Linked DNA regions of Homo sapiens: region 2 is linked to region 1. The links are contacts of gene promoters, found by promoter capture Hi-C in human tissues and cell types (Jung and others, 2019). All regions are on one chromosome and are shown on one strand. The core of a region is centred on a gene start or on the middle of the fragment in contact, and the rest is flanking DNA. Distances in the headings are between cores, read along the strand shown. Region 1 holds the start of RASL11A (RAS like family 11 member A). Region 2 overlaps USP12 (ubiquitin specific peptidase 12).

The links. The method cuts DNA at HindIII sites, captures the fragments that hold promoters and counts their contacts. A contact is called where the count stands out against the background at its distance.
Region 2: a fragment that was not itself captured here is called in contact with the fragment with the promoter of RASL11A in region 1 in 3 of the 25 tissues and cell types used here (H1 embryonic stem cells, heart left ventricle and small bowel).

What each region holds. Positions count from the first base shown.
Region 1 is chr13:27,268,824-27,272,679 of GRCh38, reverse strand. RASL11A (RAS like family 11 member A) reads right to left here and starts at 1,850. Exons shown (of 4, transcript NM_206827.2): 1 at 1,612-1,850; 2 at 1,140-1,196; 3 at 962-1,041. The coding sequence starts at 1,735. RefSeq lists silencers at 1,450-1,679, 1,720-1,939 and an enhancer at 1,888-2,388. The HindIII fragment of the contact is 19,308 bases long and covers 1-3,856 here.
Region 2 is chr13:27,125,754-27,129,609 of GRCh38, reverse strand. All of the region lies in intron 1 of USP12 (ubiquitin specific peptidase 12), which reads left to right. All of the region lies in intron 1 of USP12-AS1 (USP12 antisense RNA 1), which reads right to left. Among named protein-coding and RNA genes, the nearest start is that of USP12-AS1, 2.1 kb to the right of the region's middle. RefSeq lists an enhancer at 3,287-3,786. The HindIII fragment of the contact is 5,304 bases long and covers 1-3,856 here.

The sequences.
Region 1 (3,856 bases), core at 601-3,100:
TAAGCCAAGATAAATATCTATTCCCAAACTCATAAAAACATTTTTAACATGCACTTCTTAAGAATGTTACAGAAAGAAATTCCTTTCTTAGGGTTCTTCCACAAGACCTTTCCTCTGGAGAACGGAGTAGCAATTAGTAACTGGTTAATAAACAAGTTACATTCTAGACCCTCTGCCAAGGGGTTATCTGATTGCAATTACTGACTTGAGGGAACAGCCATTAACAGCAGCAGTTCAGCAGTGCTTGGGCCGGGCGCTGTGGCTCATGCCTATAATCCCACCACTTTGGGAGGCCGAGGTGGGCGGATCACTTGAGGTCAGGAGTTCGAGACCAGCCTGGCCAACATAGTGAAACCCCATCTCTACTAATAAATAAATAAATAGATAAATAGCTGGGAGTTCCGGCGGGTGCCTGTAGTCCCAGCTACTCGGGAGACTGAAGCAGGAGAATCGAGGAGAATCGCTGGAACCTAGGAGGCGGAAGTTGCAGTGAGCTGAGATCCAGCCACTGCACTCCAGCCTGGGCAAGAGTGAAACTCCGTCTCAAAAAAAGCAGAGCTTGCCAGGGGAGAAGAGTCTCTCCCATCAGAATCCTACCTCTTTTTTTGTTTTGTTTTGTTTTGTTTTAAACGTTTTTTTCTTTGTTAATGGTTCCATGGCTACCTCCGGAAGAAATGGTGAGACCTGCTTAAGTAGTGATGGCCCACCAGGGTTGCAAAGTGAAGTTAAGTCAGGTGCTTAACAAGAGGAGGCTGCTTCTAACCATGCCTCCCCCTTAGAGAGTTTCTAACACCCCAACCACTGGCCCCACCTGTGGACAGCCCATTCCTCCCTCTAAACGCACAGGTCGGTTTAGATGCCTTGCTCAGACCCCTGCGCCCAGCATGGGCGCCCTACGTGCTGTGCCCACTGGGGTGGTCTCACGGGTGGGGGTGAGCTGTTTGCCCCTGGCGGTTCTTACCTGGACGCCCCCGGGAGTATCCTGGATCTGCAGGGAGAGCTGGTCCCCCTCGACATAGACCAGCCGTGAATACAGCTTGCCTGGAGAATGAAGTAGAGTTTGCTTTTTAATTCTCAAACTCCCATCCGTAAAAAGAAACACGCAAGCATAAAAGCAGGGAGCGTGAAAGTATTCTCACCTGTATTCGGTTCATAGTCTCCAATGAATCTCTTGGTCAGGAAGCGCACGATCATTGCTGAAAAGGAAATAGGAAAATCAACCGAAGGAGTAGAACAAGCCTGTCAAACCCAGGCACCTCGGACAAACTGGGGGGAGTGAAGGGTGCAGAACCGTGGGCACTGCTCGCTTCCAGAGGCTCCGCAAAGCCGTGGTGCCGCGGGCTTGGCCGCGAGTACGACTGGCGGGACACCTCTCCCGCACCCCATCCCCGAACAGGCGCCAATCCCGCCGAGATCCCAGGAGTAGATGCACCAGGAAACGCCAGGGAAGCAGGCCGGGACGGACCGGGACCCACCCAGCGCGAAAGCAGCCCGATTCTACCTGCACCCGCGCCCTCTGCTTCGGCCGAGGCGCCCTCTCTCCGCAGCGCCCCCAGTGGTCGCGGCCGGAGCCGGGGAGCGAAGCCGCCCGGGGGTCCCCGCCGCACTCACCGCTCTTGCCCACGCGGCCGGCGCCCAGCACCGCCAGTTTGATGTCCTTGGGCAGTAGGTAGTCCGAGGAGGACTCGGGGATGGGTGCGAGCAGAAAGTGCCCGGACATGCTGAGCGGCCGCATGGAGCGCGTCCCGGGGTCCGGCGCGCAATCCGAGAGGGCTGGGCCTCGCCGCACCCGGAGCCGGCTCGCCAGCTGGGAGTGCGGGACTAGAGGTCCGGGACCGCGGCGGCTGCCTGCAGAACTGTCAAGGCCCGCGGCTTTTAAAGGGCTTGGTGCGCCCGGGAGCGCGGCGGCCGTCCCAGCTCCTCCTCGTCTCCGCCCCTTCCCGGAGCGGCCGGGAGGGGCGGGAGCAGAGGCCGCGGAGCTGACTATCGCCGAGGCTGTGCGCTTCGCCGGGCTGCTAGCTGCTCGCGGCTCCAGGCGCTCTGCGGCAGGACTGCGGCTCCGGGGCTCAGACCCTGGAGATACGGCCACCGTCCAGAGCGCGCGAGTGGCCTCTAGTCAGGCATTCTGCGAGTCTCCTCGCCCCGCAGCAGCCAGCCGGAGTCACTAGACCTGTGGGTGAACTTGAGATAGGAGTTACGAGTTGACGAGAGAAGAAGAAAAAGTGCAATCAGTTGGATGTTTCTGCAACAATGGGACAGATTGCTGTAAAACGCTGCCCTTTTTATTTTTAAAAGGTGCTAAGGGGCTGGGCGCGGTGGCTTACGCCTGTAATCCCAGCACTTTGGGAGGCCCAGGTGGGCAAGATCATCTGCGGTCAGGAGTTCAAGACCAGCCTGGCCAACATGGCGAAACGCTGTCTCTACTAAAAATACAAAAATTAGCGGGGCGTGGTGGTGGGCGCCTGTAATCCCAACTACTCGGGAGGCTGAGGCAGCAGAATCGCTTGAACTAGGGAGGCGGAGGTTGCAGTGAGCCGAGATGGCACCACTGCACTCCAGCCTGGACCACAAGAGCGAAACTCCGTCTCAAAAAAAAAAAAAAAAGAAAGAAAAGAAAAGATGCTAAGGGGTAACATTAATATGGGAAAAGGGCGGGGGGCGGGGGGCAAGAGCTCTGAATTAGTATCAGTGGAGGCAACTGCAGTCACTGTGACCTTGCTAGGGATAGATGAAGTCCCCTTAGGGGCAGTGATGGTTAGCATCTCAGTATCCATGCCCAGCCCCTCCTCTGCAGGCAGGGGTTGCACTGGCTCATTCCTGAACACTCATGAGCACTCCACTGGCTGGGGGCCCTGGCCCTGCACTAAGTGTCCATCATTAATACTATCCTATGTGCTTGAGTCATGCATTTGCTTCAGTATCCAAATATTTACTTCTAGGTGCATGGTGGGGTCTAGGGTGGGGTGGGGGGCAGTGTGAGGAACAGGACACAGAGCTATAGACTGGTTCTTGGATTTCTGGAGCCCACCAGAAATAGCACAGCAGAAGCCTCAGGACTTTAACCTTGAACAGTTAGAAGACCTTCATGCCTCTGACCTCCTGTGTTCCAGCCTCACTTGCCTAATCGCCTATTAGACAGCCCCACCCTAATTCATACCTTTCTCTACCCTGGTTGTACCAGTTTTTGCTGCATGACAAGCCACACCAAACTAGATGGCTTAGAACAACAATCACTTACAGTTGTTGAGCCCTTTGATGCATCTGCAGGGAGCTTCCAGGTTCTGGAAGTGGGGGCTGGCTGCCCTTGGATAGCCTTACTCATGTCTGGCAGCTGTTGGCTGTGATGAGGGAGGGTAGTGACTGAGTTACATGTCTCTTCTCATTCAGCACGTTGGCCAGGGCCTGCCTTCATGGTAGCTGAGCAGAGTTCCAAGAGAGTGGGTGGAAATGGATAAGGCCTCTTGAGACCTAGGCCTTGAGAAGGAACCCATCCCTTCTGCTGCATTCTGTTGGCCAAAGCAAGTCATGGGGCCAGCCCATATTCAAGGAGTAGGGAAATACACTCCGCCCCTTTGTGGAAACAGCAGAAAAGTCACGTGTGAAAGGGCAAGGAAGCAGAGAGTGATGGAGAATGGGGTCCATTTTTGTAATTGACCATGCTAATGAATGTGTCTCCATCCACCCAGTGGCCCAAGCCTGGGAGACATCCTTGACTCTACCCACTCTCTCACTTCCACATTGATTAATCGCCAAGTTCCATCATTTCTCCTCCTATATTTCTTGGTGTCTCCCTCTGTATCCCTACTGCTCTCATTTCTTTTTTTTTTTTTTTTTTTGAGACGGAGTCTCGCTCTGT
Region 2 (3,856 bases), core at 410-2,909, 140 kb after region 1:
TCAGCCTCCCGAACAGCTGGGACTACAGGCGTGCTCCACAACATCCTCTGTAGAGACAGAGTCTTGCTATGTTGCCCAGCCTTCTCTAGAACTCCGGGCCTTAAGCAGTCCTCCTGCTCTGACTTCCCAAAGTGCTGGTATTATGGGCATGAACCACTGCACCTGGCCTACGCATAGCTTTAGAGTGACACTGTCATTTTATGAGCTGTTGATGGTGTGGTTACTAAGAATGGTTTTTATTTTTGCAGAACTTAAAAGTTGTTTTCAGTTCTTCCACAGTTTTATAGCTGGAAAATGGTAAGAGAGAACCACATTTTATAGGTCAGGGGAATCGAGGTCTAGAAAACAGGACTGGCAGAGATGCTGCTTTGTTCTTTCCACTTAACTGTGGTTTAATATAATATTCCTGTTGTCTCAGTGACACGGAAAGAGCTACAGGTCACTTTCTTATTGTGGTAAGAATGAAGAACTCTTTCTAGATAGTTCACAATATGAGTACTTTTTTTTATTTGAAGTGTATGGAATATTCCGAGTATTTGATAAAACTATGTAAGTTTGATGATAATTTGCTTTTTATTAGGGTGAGTCAGAGTCTGCATATGGAATCTGGAGTATGAACTCCGTTACTATTAAACTAAGTCAGTCCATAATGTAATTTGTTGATTTTGGTTTCACTTGAACTTAATAATACCTTGTATTTATATAGTGATTTTCTTCTCAGGAGTGGTAGGTACTTTACAGATACTTTATTATACTGTAACATAGGTGCTGGGAAAAATAGAAGCGTTCATGTTTTTATAAGTGGAAAAGCATCAACACAGGTTTTCTCACTGAGCATAATCACAGAAATCTGTTATCCAAGTCAGGTGTCTGAAGGGTACGCAGGGTGGCAATCCAGGGATCCTTGCTTTTTATAGAGCTGAAACATTATTTGGTGGAATAGATATAGAAATTATCAAGAATATGGTAGAAAGAGCTTGATGAAACATTCTTGTAATTTGTTCACCAAAGTGGGTGAATCCCTGCATTGAAGACAATGTGAAGATGCTGAAAAAACACATCTTGCCCACCCTTTTTGCCTTAGGTAAGGTGCCAGTTACGGAGTTCAGATATAGTTATGTTTTAAATGTTAGCTATCCATGAGAGTATTTTATTAATTTTTTGAAAGTTTTTTGTATTGTTAGGAAAGTAGGATCTGTAAAGTTTCATCGTGCACTCAAGTATGTTCTTATGCTGAGTTTGGTCATATTTGAGAATTTTCCTTTTGATGTTATTGTTAAGCCAAATGTGAAGGCTTGACAGAGTGGTTCTTGGAAAAGCCAGTATTATTACTACTGTTACTTCTAACAGAGATGAAGTAATGAGATTTCTTTCATTAGCTCATTGTCTCATTGTGAACATTTACAGATCAAAAGCTTGTTTTTCGTTCGTTTATTTTTTTGGCATCCAGTGATCTTATATTTCCATATCTTGACTGAGTTAAAAGACTTAAGGTAAATCCGAATCTTCTTTTGTTCTCTCTAAATATTCTCTATAACACATTTAGCCATGAATTATGTGGTGAAACTTTTCATTGAAAATACTGAATAAAATAATCGGAATACTGTGCTTTTTGACATGTCTAATAGGAACATTGAGTTTCTAGTGGACGTTTGAACTTTTGAAAGTTAAAATTACATGCCTGTTGGTTTTGGCTTAGTTATTTAGCAGTGAATTATAATATTGATTCAGATATGTAACTTGTTTTTTATTACATAAGTGGAGTCCTCTGAGTAAATTTAAATTTGCAGTTACTTGCGCAGTGATTAATCATAGAATTGGATTTTTTCTGAAGAGATGAGAAATTTAGATGTTTAATATGTTACATATGTGCTTCTGTGGTGGCAGTTGAAGGAGAAAGTAAACTACTTTTAATTTCTTCTGGGAAGAAATTCAGTTTTTGAGAACTTGCCAGAAATCTTCCCTATCAGGTTGAAGATTTTTAGGAGGGATATGGAGGGTAGGTGGGAGAATGGGATGTATACACAAACATAAACACTACTGGACGGCAAAATTATATTGTTTCTCTTTCTTCCTGCAATGGAACAAATGGTTTTCAGAAGACCTGTGATAGGAATAGAGGCAAAGGCCCTTTGATCATGTGATTATTAGAGCTTGATAACTGGTTGTACAATATTTCATTTCTCTCAGACTTAGCAACATGTTCTGACTTCTCCATTAGTGTTGGCAGCTGAACCTCTCTGTTCCCTTTTATGTCATTGGTACCATATATCTTACTGAGGGTCACTTTGCTTTGTGCCGATTTCTGATTTTAAGCCTTTTGCAAGCTTCTGCCATGTGTACCACAATGGTGCAATGCCAGTTTTAGGTCTAGACCCTTCTACTTTTTATGGTGCACATTTTAACTTTGATGGGATAGTTAAAAACTATGAGATTTCTTTCAGTAGCTCATTGTCTCATTGTGAACATTTACAGATCAAAAGCTTGTTTTTTGTTTTAACATAGAGGAGGCCACTAGAGGAGGAAGTATAGACCAAGACTCTTAGGATGACTGCAGATCAGTGCAGAACCCCCAGATACTTTCCCTCCCAGCCACAGAAATTGTGTCAGGACTGTGTTTTTTGAAAGACTCATCTGAAGGAAGGAGTAATAGATGGCATTGTAGTTGGGATGGAGGAAGATGGGCAAAGGAAGTTTGCTTTGTGCCTGTTGTGCCAGGCATTGTTCTGAACATCTTCTATACATTTTTCACAGAAACAAGCCATGTTGCAAGTCTTGTTTGCCCTTTTTTGCAGATTAGTAATTTGGAGCTCAAATGTTTAGAACAAATATTTGTTCTAAATTTAAACTTTGGTAACTCTACAGTAGTGCTGCTATTTTAGAATTGTAGCATTTTGGGTTTGCAATAGGTGCTACAAATCTGGTCTCCTGTCTTGCTGATGAGAAAACTGAGGCAGTGTTTTATTGCAGTGGCTCAGTAGTTTAGTTTATATTAGAATGGGGACACGAATGCAGCCTCCTGGTTTGAAGGCTGTCACCCAGTCCCCTGCCCAGCCTGCGGTTGGAACGTTTAAATGCCTACTCTTTGTAGTTCAGGGTTTTCATTGTACCAACATGAAAAGCTATAATGAAAATACCCCTAAAGAAAGAGTCAAAGCCTGGCTTGTTTAGTTCCATCTGTTTGTGCTATTCCTTTCTGTTTGTTTGTTTTCCTTCTCACAGGCCCCTCAGCTGCAGGTCTGTTGGAGTTTGCTGGAGGTCCACTCCAGACCCTGTTTGCCTGGGTATCACCAGCAGAGGCTGCAGAACAGCAAATATTGCTGCCTGATCCTTCCTCTGGAAGCTTTGTCCCAGGGGGCACCAGCCTGTATGAGGTGTCTGTCGGCCCCTACTGGGAGGTGTCTCCCAGTCAGGCTGCACTCCCAGTCAGGGACCCACTTGAGGAGGCAGTCTGTCTGTTATCAGAGCTCGAAACACCATGCTGGGAGAACCACTGGTCTCTTAGACCTGTCAGGCAGGGACGTTTACGTCTGCAGAAGCTGTCTGCTGCCTTTTGTTCAGATATGCCCTGCCCCCAGAGGTGGAATCTAGAGAGGCAGTAGGCCTTGCTGAGCTGTGGTGGGCTCCGCCCAGTTCAAGCTTCCCTGCTGCTTTATGCTGTAAGCACAGAACCACCTACTCAAGCCTCAGCAATGGCGGACGCCCCTCCCCCTGCCAAGCTCCAGCGTCCCAGGTCAATCTCAAACTGCTGTGCTAGCAGCGAGCAAGGCTCCCTGGGCGTGGGACCCATAAGCCAGGCACGGGAGGGAGTCTCCTGGTCTGCCGGTTGCAAAGACCGTCAGAAAAGCACAGTATT